2 separate regions of the Homo sapiens genome follow, and region 2 is linked to region 1. Evidence: promoter capture Hi-C in human tissues and cell types (Jung and others, 2019). All regions are on one chromosome and are shown on one strand. The core of a region is centred on a gene start or on the middle of the fragment in contact, and the rest is flanking DNA. Distances in the headings are between cores, read along the strand shown. Region 1 holds the start of TULP1 (TUB like protein 1). Region 2 overlaps MAPK14 (mitogen-activated protein kinase 14).

What was found. Contacts are between HindIII fragments. The study calls those that stand out against the background at their distance.
Region 2: a fragment that was not itself captured here is called in contact with the fragment with the promoter of TULP1 in region 1 in 1 of the 25 tissues and cell types used here (small bowel).

What each region holds. Positions count from the first base shown.
Region 1 is chr6:35,511,411-35,515,935 of GRCh38, forward strand. It overlaps TULP1 (TUB like protein 1), which reads right to left and starts at 1,486. Exons shown (of 15, transcript NM_003322.6): 1 at 1,402-1,486; 2 at 1,229-1,280; 3 at 770-860; 4 at 238-396. The coding sequence starts at 1,448. The HindIII fragment of the contact is 7,738 bases long and covers 1-4,525 here.
Region 2 is chr6:36,036,938-36,041,752 of GRCh38, forward strand. The region is part of intron 1 of MAPK14 (mitogen-activated protein kinase 14); the gene reads left to right. Among named protein-coding and RNA genes, the nearest start is that of MAPK14, 12 kb to the left of the region's middle. RefSeq lists a silencer at 1,684-1,733. The HindIII fragment of the contact is 3,983 bases long and covers 164-4,146 here.

The DNA of each region.
Region 1 (4,525 bases), core at 236-2,735:
AACCCTTAACGGCTCTATGACTCAGTTTCTCCATCTGTACAATGGTGGAGGGGGGGAACAAAGCACCCTCTCATAGTTGGTGCTTAGCACAATACCTGGCTCAAAGATAAGGCCAGAAAAGTGGGGGCTATTTGACTACAGTTGTTTTCTGCCTCTCTGGGCCGTTCCCGTCCAGCCAGCCCCTTCTCTCCTTAGCTCCACCGCCCCCTCACCCGCGTCCCTGGGGCCCTCTCTCACCGTCCTCCGCGTCTGGGGCACGGGCTACCAGAAAGGTTTCCCGGGGGTCGCGCTTCTTGGCCTCGGGGTCCCTGAGGAACCTGGCGTAGACCGTCTGCGGCGCCCGGGCCTGGGCTGGGTCTGGGGAAGGCTCCTCCCGCGGCCTCCCCGTCCGCCCAGCTGAGCCGAGATGCGGGGTTCAGACAGGGTCCCATCCGCGGGTCCGCGAGGCAGCGCCTCTACCCGCTACCCCCAAGCCTGGGCGCACCCCCTCGGGCTCCTCACCCTAGGGATCTCCCCTGGGCTTGGGTTTCCACTTTCAACACTTCTCCCCGGCTTCCATTCAGCTTCCCACCCCCTTCTACCCCAACGCCACCCCCTTCTACACCAACCCCAACCCCAACCCCAACCCCAATCCCTCCCCTCTCATCACTCCCCGCCCCCTCCTCCCCCACCCCGTTCCAGGGCTCGGCGACACCCGCGCCGGCCCTCAAGCCCCTCCCTTCCGCAGCCCACACCCTGGGGGTCCACCCGGGCTCTGCACCCCGCCCACCTCCGGGCTTCCGGGGCTTGGATCCCGTGGGGCAGGGGGATTCGGGGGCCTCCGTCCTCTTCTTCCTTAGCCTCTGTGCCGGGGCGGGTCGCTGCGGAACGGGGGTCAAGAGGAGGTCGAGGAAGGAAAGGGGGGCGCTGAGGCCCGCCCATCCCCCTCTAATCCCTTGAGCCGCCAGAAATAACCGCAGATTATCCGGGGGGAACTGCAGCCCCCTTCTTGGAGTGAGGCAGGATGACCCCTTCCATGCATCGTGGCCATATCCAATGCTCCAAAGTCCCTATTCCTTCCCTGGAAACCCCAAGTCCCCAAACAGCCCTTTCTCCCCCCAGATCTCCAGACATGCAACCCCCAGACCCTGCTAAGGGGGACCTGTCCCACCCCTAGACCCCCTACCCTGCGTGGGTTTACGCACAGCGGGGACATCTTTCTGCTTCCTTTCCAAGTGGGGTGGCATACCTGTTTGGGGCGCCGCGGGGCCTCCGGGCTCAGGCTTTCTTCTTCATGCCCACTGAGGGTAGCAAAGGGATCAGCCTGTCTCCCTTCCCCTTCCCTCCCCATCCCACCCACTCCCCATCCCTCCATCTAGGCCCCCCAGGGTTCAGGTGCCACGAACTGGGGGCCTTCCAGACCTGTCAGAGGCCCACACCTCTCGGAGGGTTTCATCCCGCAGAGGCATGGTGCCTTTGCCTATCGCACCCCTTTCTCTGCAGGTCTAGGAGCCTCCCTCCCGACTCCTGCTAATCTCGGCTCAACTTCACCCCCCTTCCCCCTGCTCAAGGAGTGGAGGCCTGGCCGCGCTGTGGGAGGTGCTACAGCCCACGACCCTCCCCTGCTAGGCCCAGGCCACTGGGGGAAGAATCTCAACTCCAGTTCTTCTCAGATCCCCAGCAGCCTGCAGGATGGCCACCAGCTCCACCTGCCCCGAGAAGCCCCCAGAAGCTTGGGGTGAGAGGGGCCGATTAGTCATTTGTCAATGGGATGTGGAAGAAAACATTAGACTGGATCCTGTATTTATCTTTATTTCTCACAAAAAATAAGAACTAGAGCCAGGTGCGGTGGTTTACACCTGTAATCCCAGCACTTTGGGAGGCTGAGACAGGTGGATCATTTGAGGTCAGGAGTTCGAGGCCAGCCTGGCCGGCACAGTGAAACCCAGTCTCTACTAAAAATTCAAAAATTAGCCGGGTGCGGTGGCTCACCCCTGTAATCCCAGCACTTTGGGAGGCCGAGGCAGACGGATCACAAGGTCAGGAGATCGAGACTATCCTGGCTAACATGGTGAAACCTCATCTCTACTAAAAATGCAAAAATTAGCCGGGCATGGCGGCAGGCACCTGTAGTCCCAGCTACTCAGGAGGCTGAGGCAGGAGAATGGCGTGTACCTGGGAGGCGGAGCTTGCAGTGAGCGGAAATCATGCCACTGCACTCCTGCCTGGGCAACAGAGTGAGACTCCGTCTCAAAATAAATAAATAAATAAATAAAAAATTAGCTGGGCATCGTGGTGGGCACCTGTAGTCCCAGCTACTGGGGAGGCTGAGGCAGGAGAAGCACTTGAACCTGGGAGGCGGAGGTTGCAGTGAGCCGAGATCTTGCCAATGCACTCCAGCCTGGCCAAAAAGAGCAAGACTACATCTCAGAAAAAAAAAAAAAAAAAAGAATATGTCTGTATTGGAGGTATACCCTTAACTCTTTTTCTTTTTTCACTGATAGGGGACATGCTTTTGTGGTATTGTTTTGTTTTGTTTTAGACAGAATTTTGCTCTTGTCACCCAGGCTGGAGTGCAGTGGCACGATCCTGGCTAATTACAGTAAATCCATATCAAATGGAACTTTCTAAAATACTATTTCTTCGGTTGCCACCTTTGTTCAAAAACATTCATTGGCTCCCTACTGCCTAAGGATTAAGTTTAAATGTGTTGGGTTGACATTCAAGGCTCTCCCTGATCTGGCCCCAGTCTGCCTTTCTAACCACAGGGTTATCCCAAGCCATACTCTTCATCCAGCCACAGAGGTTTCCTTACTGCCTTTACAGTTCTGTCCTCCATGCCTTTGCTCAGGCTGTTCCCTCCCGGAACGCCCTCCCTATTCCATGAAACCTATCCAACTCTAAACAGTCCTCAAGTCGCCACTTCGGAGAGGCCTCAGTCCTCAGTTGGCTCTGACCATATAATAATAATAGCATTTATTGTCCACCTACTGTGGCTTGCTCCCATTCTGACTCCACCCTCACAATAATATTTATGAGACAGACATTAACACCCTGATATTAGGGCAAGGAGCAGTGGCTTATGCCTGTAATCCCAGCACTTTGGGAGGATCACTTGAGCCCAGGAGCTCAAGACCAGGCTGAGCAACATAGTGAGACTTTGTCTCTACAAAAAATTTAAAAATTAGCTGAGCAATGTGGTACATGCCTGAGGTCCCAGCTACTTGGGAGGCTGAGGCAGGAGGATGACTTGAGCCCAGGAGGCAGAGGCTGCAGTGAGCTAAGACAGTGCCACAGCACTCCAGCCTGGGCAATGGAGTGAGACCCTGTCTCAAAAACAAAACCAAACAACCAAACAACCAAACGAAAACACCCTGATATTAAAGGTGAGGAAACTGACAGCTGAGTGTCAGTCAACAAGTATTTCCTGAGCACCTATTGTGTGCCAAGCGCTATGCTAAATAATGGTCATACAGAGATGAACAACATGATGTGGTCCCCGCCCTCGTGCAGCTTACATGCTTGTGAGAGAGACAGATAGTAGAGACATAAATACCCAAATTAGTGATAATGATCTCATTATTATTAGTTGTGAGAAATGCCAAGAAGGAAAGGAACTGGGCTCCACGAGACCAGCAGGTGGGTTCCAGTCTGGATTTAGAGTACAGGCAAGGCTGCCTGAGGAAGGAAGGTTTCGTTTTGTTTTGTTTTGTTTTTTGAGATGGAGTCTTGTTCTGTCACTCAGGCTGGAGTGCAATGGCACGATCTCAGCTCACTGCAACCTCTGCCTCCCAGGGTCAAGCAATTCTCCTGTCTCAGCCTCCTGAGTAGGTGGGATTACAGGCACCTGGCTATGTTTTGTATTTTTAGTAGACAAGGGGTTTCACCATGTTGGCCAGGCTGATCTCAAACTCCTGACCTCAAGTGGTCCGCCTGCCTTGGCCTCACAAAGTGCTGGGATTACAGGCATGAGCTACCATGCCCTGCCCTGAGGAAGGAATTTTTTTTTTTTTTTTTGACATGGAGTCTCACTCTTGTCACCCAGGCTGGAGTGCAGTGGTGCAATCTGAGCTCACTGCAACCTTCGCCTCCCAGATTCAAGCAATTCTCCCGCCTCAGCCTTCTGAGTAGCTGGGACTACAGGCACCCGCCACCACGCCTGGCTAATTTTTTTTTTTTTTTTTTTTTTGTAGTTTTGGTAGGGATGGGGTTTCACCATGTTGGCCAGGCTGGTCTCGAACTCCTGACTTCTAGTGATCCGCCCACCTCGGCCTCCCAAAGTGCTGGGATTACAGGCCTGAGCCACCGTGCCTGGCCAAGGAAGGCATTTTTAAACTGAAATCTGAAGGAATTTTTTTTTTTTTGAGACGGAGTTTTGCTCTTGTCTCCCAGGCTGGAGTGCAATGGCGTGATCTTGGCTCACTGCAACCTCTGCCTCCTGGGTTCAAGTGATTCTCTCCTGCCTCAGCCTCCCAAGTAGCTGGGATTACAAGCGTGTGCCACCATGCCTGGCTAATTTTTGTATTTTTAGTAGAGATGGTGTTTC
Region 2 (4,815 bases), core at 905-3,404, 530 kb after region 1:
ACCATGTTGGCTAGGCTGGTCTCAAACTCTTGACCTCAAGCGATCCTCCTGCCTCGGCCTCCCAAAGTGCTGAGAGTAATAGGTATGAGCCACTGTGCCCGGCTAATAAAATATTTTTAAATTAAGGTATGTGCATATATATATTTTTTTGACATACTGCTAGTGCATACTTAATAGACTACAGTATCATGTAAATATAACTTTTATATGCACTGGGAAACCAAAAAATTTATGTCACTCATTTTTTTGTGATATTCACTGTGTTGTGGTTGTCTGGAACTGAACTCATGATATCTTTGAGGTACACCTGTATGTATGTGTTAAGGATTTACAAAATTAACCAGCTTTCCCGTGCAGTGTTCAAGTCTTTTAATAATTTATTATAGGGAAGAAGAAGTGGTGGTTTGTAAATTCTGTACTTGACAAATGGATACTGGGTTTTGGGCATGCTTGGCTCCAAGGCTGAATGTTGGGGGAAAGAAGTATAGGAGAGTGAGGAGTCTAGGATTTCTAAGTTTTGGCCTTGGGCAAATGGATATATTTTAGTGCCATTTTCTGAACTTTGTGTTACAAAGTTACAAAAGAGTGTTACAGGGTACAAGATTGTAGAGAGAAAGGGGAAGGAGCATAGGTTCATGGTAATCTCCTTGAGGACAGGACTCATTATACCTTGAGTGCCTACCATGTATGGTTTGCCGTAAGTGCTGGAGATGAAATGTGAACAAAAGAGACAAAAATTTCTGCCTTAAGAAGCTATATTCTGGCCAGGTGCAGTGAGTGGCTCACACCTGTAATTCCTGCACTTTGGGAGGCCAAGGTAGGTTTCCTTGAGCCCAGTAGTTAGAAACCAGCATCCTGGGAAAAATGGGGAGGCTCCTCTACTAAAAAATAAAAATAAAAAATTAGGGATGCTTGGTGGCACACTCCTGTAGTTCCAACTACTTGGGAGGCTGAGGTGGAGGGATTGCTTGAGCCTAAGAGGATTGCTTGAGCCTGGGAAGTTGAGGCTGTAGTGAGCTGTGATCCTGCCACTGTACTCCAGCTTGGGTGACAGAGTGATACCCTGTCTCCAAAAAGAAAAAAAAAAGGAAGCTATATTCTAATGGGGATGGCAGTGGAAGTAGATAATAAACAAAATATATAGTGTGTCAGATAAGTGCTGTGGAGAAAATGCAAGAAGGGAAGGAGAGTGAGTGCTAGGATGGCTGTTGCACTTTTAAGAAAGGTGAATACGGTAAGCATCATTGATAAAGTAACAATTGAGCAAAAACCTGAAGAAGGTGATATAGGACACTGGTTGGACATGGGTGAGGATGTGATAACATTCTAGGCTGAGGATTAGCAAGTGTGCAAAAGCCCTGAGGTAAGGGCCCTGTGCTCCAGGAAATAGCTAAGAGACCAGTACAGCTAGAGCTAAATGAACCAGGGGCCAAATATAGGGAGAAAAGTGGGGTGAGGAGAGGGTTGCAGATATGCAGGGATCATGTAGGGTCTTATTTGCCTTTGTACAGACTGTGACTTTTCCTTTAAGTGAGAGGGGAAGCCTTGGAGGGTTATGACCAGAGGAAGGACATGACCTAAATCTTGTTTTAACAGATTACTGTGCTCTAGGGTCCCAAGTTTTTCGTTTCGGTTCCTTACCCATTCTACCCTAAACCACTACTGTGAATAGGATAGAACGGTGGAGTTAGATGAATTGGTGCAAGCCCTGACCCATGCTCACAACTCTCATTCCAGCAGTCCCAGAGTGCCAGAGCCAGTATTTTTGTTGGGCCCTAGAAATTTAGGGTATTCCAGTCCAGCTCTTTAAATAACATGGGCTGACTTTACTTTTTCAGGTTTTTGTTGCCAAAAGGAAGGAGCAGAGATTAGCTCTTGAGTTTAGCTGAAAAAGGAAGATTAGTCTGCTGGCAGATTGAGTGTTTTTTAACTTCTTTGGCTTTTAGGGTTTTTCTTACTTTTGGATCATGTTTTAAAAGTCATTTTTACCTTCTTTCAACAGTTAAACATTTAAGTTTTATTTGATTTTATTTGACCCTTTTTCTGCTTTACATTCCTCTGCCTTTTCCCCATTATAATACTTTTAGTAGAGGTTAGACCATTGTTATCTGTCATTAATGTCTTAGCTTTGAGGCCCCAAGGACTTCTCTGTTAAACTTAAATATATCATATAGATTGAAAGATTATCTACAGACATGTGATCCTATAAAAACCCATATTATTTATTGTCCTCCCTGCCTTTACAGATGTAAACCCCTCTCCTCTTTTCATCAGAGCTCCCCCTCTTTTACTGCTCTATCATCAGGTTGCAGAAAATAAGTTTTCCTGCAAACATAGATTCCCATGGCAACATAACAAAAAGGTAATAGAACAAATGTTTATTTTGTCTAGACCTGCTGTCTGAGTACCATTAGACCCTGAACATGTTGGCTCCTGTTATTTGAATATGTGGTTACAAATTCCTTATTTTCCTCAAAACTTACTTCTCTTAGGCCTTGGTGATATTGTCACTGTGCCTGTGATATGAAGGAAGGTGTGTGTGTGTGTGAGTATGTGTGTCTTACTGTCATTCTACTCAAAAGTGTGTATTGATTGCATTTTCAAACTTATGGCTTAAAATGTAGACACCACACAATCTGAGCATGTGAAGAAAAAAAGCATACCAGTTTTGTTCTTTGTTTTCGTAAGTTCATTAATTTAATATTTCCAGTGCACTATACTAGATATTTTGTTTACAGAGATTTTAAAAAAAAGAAGGGTCCCTCCTTTCGAAAGTATCAGTCCAGGCTGGGTGCAGTGGCTCACGCCTGTAATCCCAGCACTTTGGGAGGCCAAGGTGGGCGGATCACTTGAGGTCAGGAGTTTGAGATCAGCCTGGCCAACATGGTGAAACCCCATCTCTACAAAAATTAGTTGGGCATGGTGGTGTGTGCCTGTAATCCCAGCTATTCAGGAGGCTGAGGCACAAGAATCACTTGAACCCGGGAGGCGGAGGTTGCAGTGAGCCGAGATCACTCCCCTGCACTCCTGTCTGGGCGATAGAGCAAGACTCAGTCTCAAAAAAAAAAAAAAAAAGAAAGTATCAGTCCAGAGGAGACATATTTATGTTTCCTCATAGATGGCTTTGGAAGTCCTCTGTAGTTTTGGATCTTGAAGCATTTTAGGTTTTGGATTTTCAGATTAGGGATACTCAACCTGTATAACCCAGGGTAATTCAACCTATTGACACTTTAGGTGGGATAATGTTTTGTTGTGGGGGACTGACCTGTGCAGTGTAGTATGTTTAGCAGCATCCCTGTCTCCAACTCACTGTATACTAATAGCAATTCCCAGTTGTGACAACCAAAAATGTCTAGACATTGCCACATATCTCTTGACGGGTAGGGAGGGCAAAATCACCTTTAGTTGAGAACCACTTATATAACCCTATATATTTGGATTGATAACCCTGTATATTTGATTGAGTAAAAACTAGATGGGATAACATGAACCTTCCACCTGCAAAAAGGCAGAAATGCTATACTTTCTGCATTATAAATTGGGCCTCTCTAAACATGATTTTTGTTATTTCTAGGAGAGTAACAGCATTTCTAATGGTCAAGGTCCTAGCTATAACCCAATAAGCTTAATGGATGGGAGAACTTGCACAAGCATGTTTGCAAGAGGCCAGGTGTATCACTGGCACATTTGAGAAACAACTAATTAGTGAGGGAGACCCAATTTTCATGAATAATTGTGTTTTGTCATTGTCATGGCCCCAACTTAGGGTGTTTTGAATTTTTTCTGGAAAGGAAATTAGCATGAAGTCCAAGTTGGTAGGTAGGTAGCATTTTCCCTAGTGTCTCTTCTGGTATTCTGTGTCCTTTCTCTCCTGTCTTCTTTCAGTATTTAGCGTTTTCAAACTCCTAGAAATAAAATGCTGTTTAGAAGACCACAAAGAGAGCTGCACATAAACTAAGGAGCAAGAAGTAGTACATTGTGAATTAATTTTCTGTATGTTTTTGAAGGTTCTTGCATCTGGGAAGGCTTGCTTAGTTTTAAAAATATTAGGTAATAACAGACTGAAATTTTGAAGATCTTGTGGATCTCAGGTAGCAGTAACTCAGGAAGATCAGCCTTCTTTGATTTAGAATGTCATTTAGGCACATTATGTATTCTGGTACCTTAGAAGATACAATGCATTTTCCTGAATTATCATTGCTACTGCTTTAATTACTTTAAGGGTGTGAGGCAGTAACTAACTTTAGTGTCACAATGTATACATCTTAACATTTATTGTGCTCTTTTTTTTTTTTTTAAACACCACCTTAAAGTACTCTGCTATTCAGATTTTTCCTTGTGTTTCTCTAATTCTCCTATTTCATCCATTGGTCAGTTTTTTCTTCCTCTTTTCTTTCTGCTCCATGATCCATTCTTAAATTTTCTTTTCTCTTTCTGTGCATATTCTTTTTGAATTCATTATCTGATAGTCTCAACAATGGTCTTGTTCATATACTATCCTTCCAAATTTGTACTTTCAAACCTAATCTCAAGAATGACTGATCCTTTGGATTCTAAATCTATTGAGATGTAATGTTTCATGCTTTTCCTTGATTACTTTCCTACACACTTCTTGAAGATACCAGAGATGTAGCACTAACTTCCGTTGGAATGGGATTCATGTTACAAGCTTGAATGGTTCAGTTTAGATATGTGAAGCGGATGTCATCATTAGCACTGATGACTGACAGTAGTTATAAAAATTACAATCAGGAATGAACCAATTTACCTGAAGTTTTCAATAACTCTAGGTATTAATGCAACATAATTTTGAAA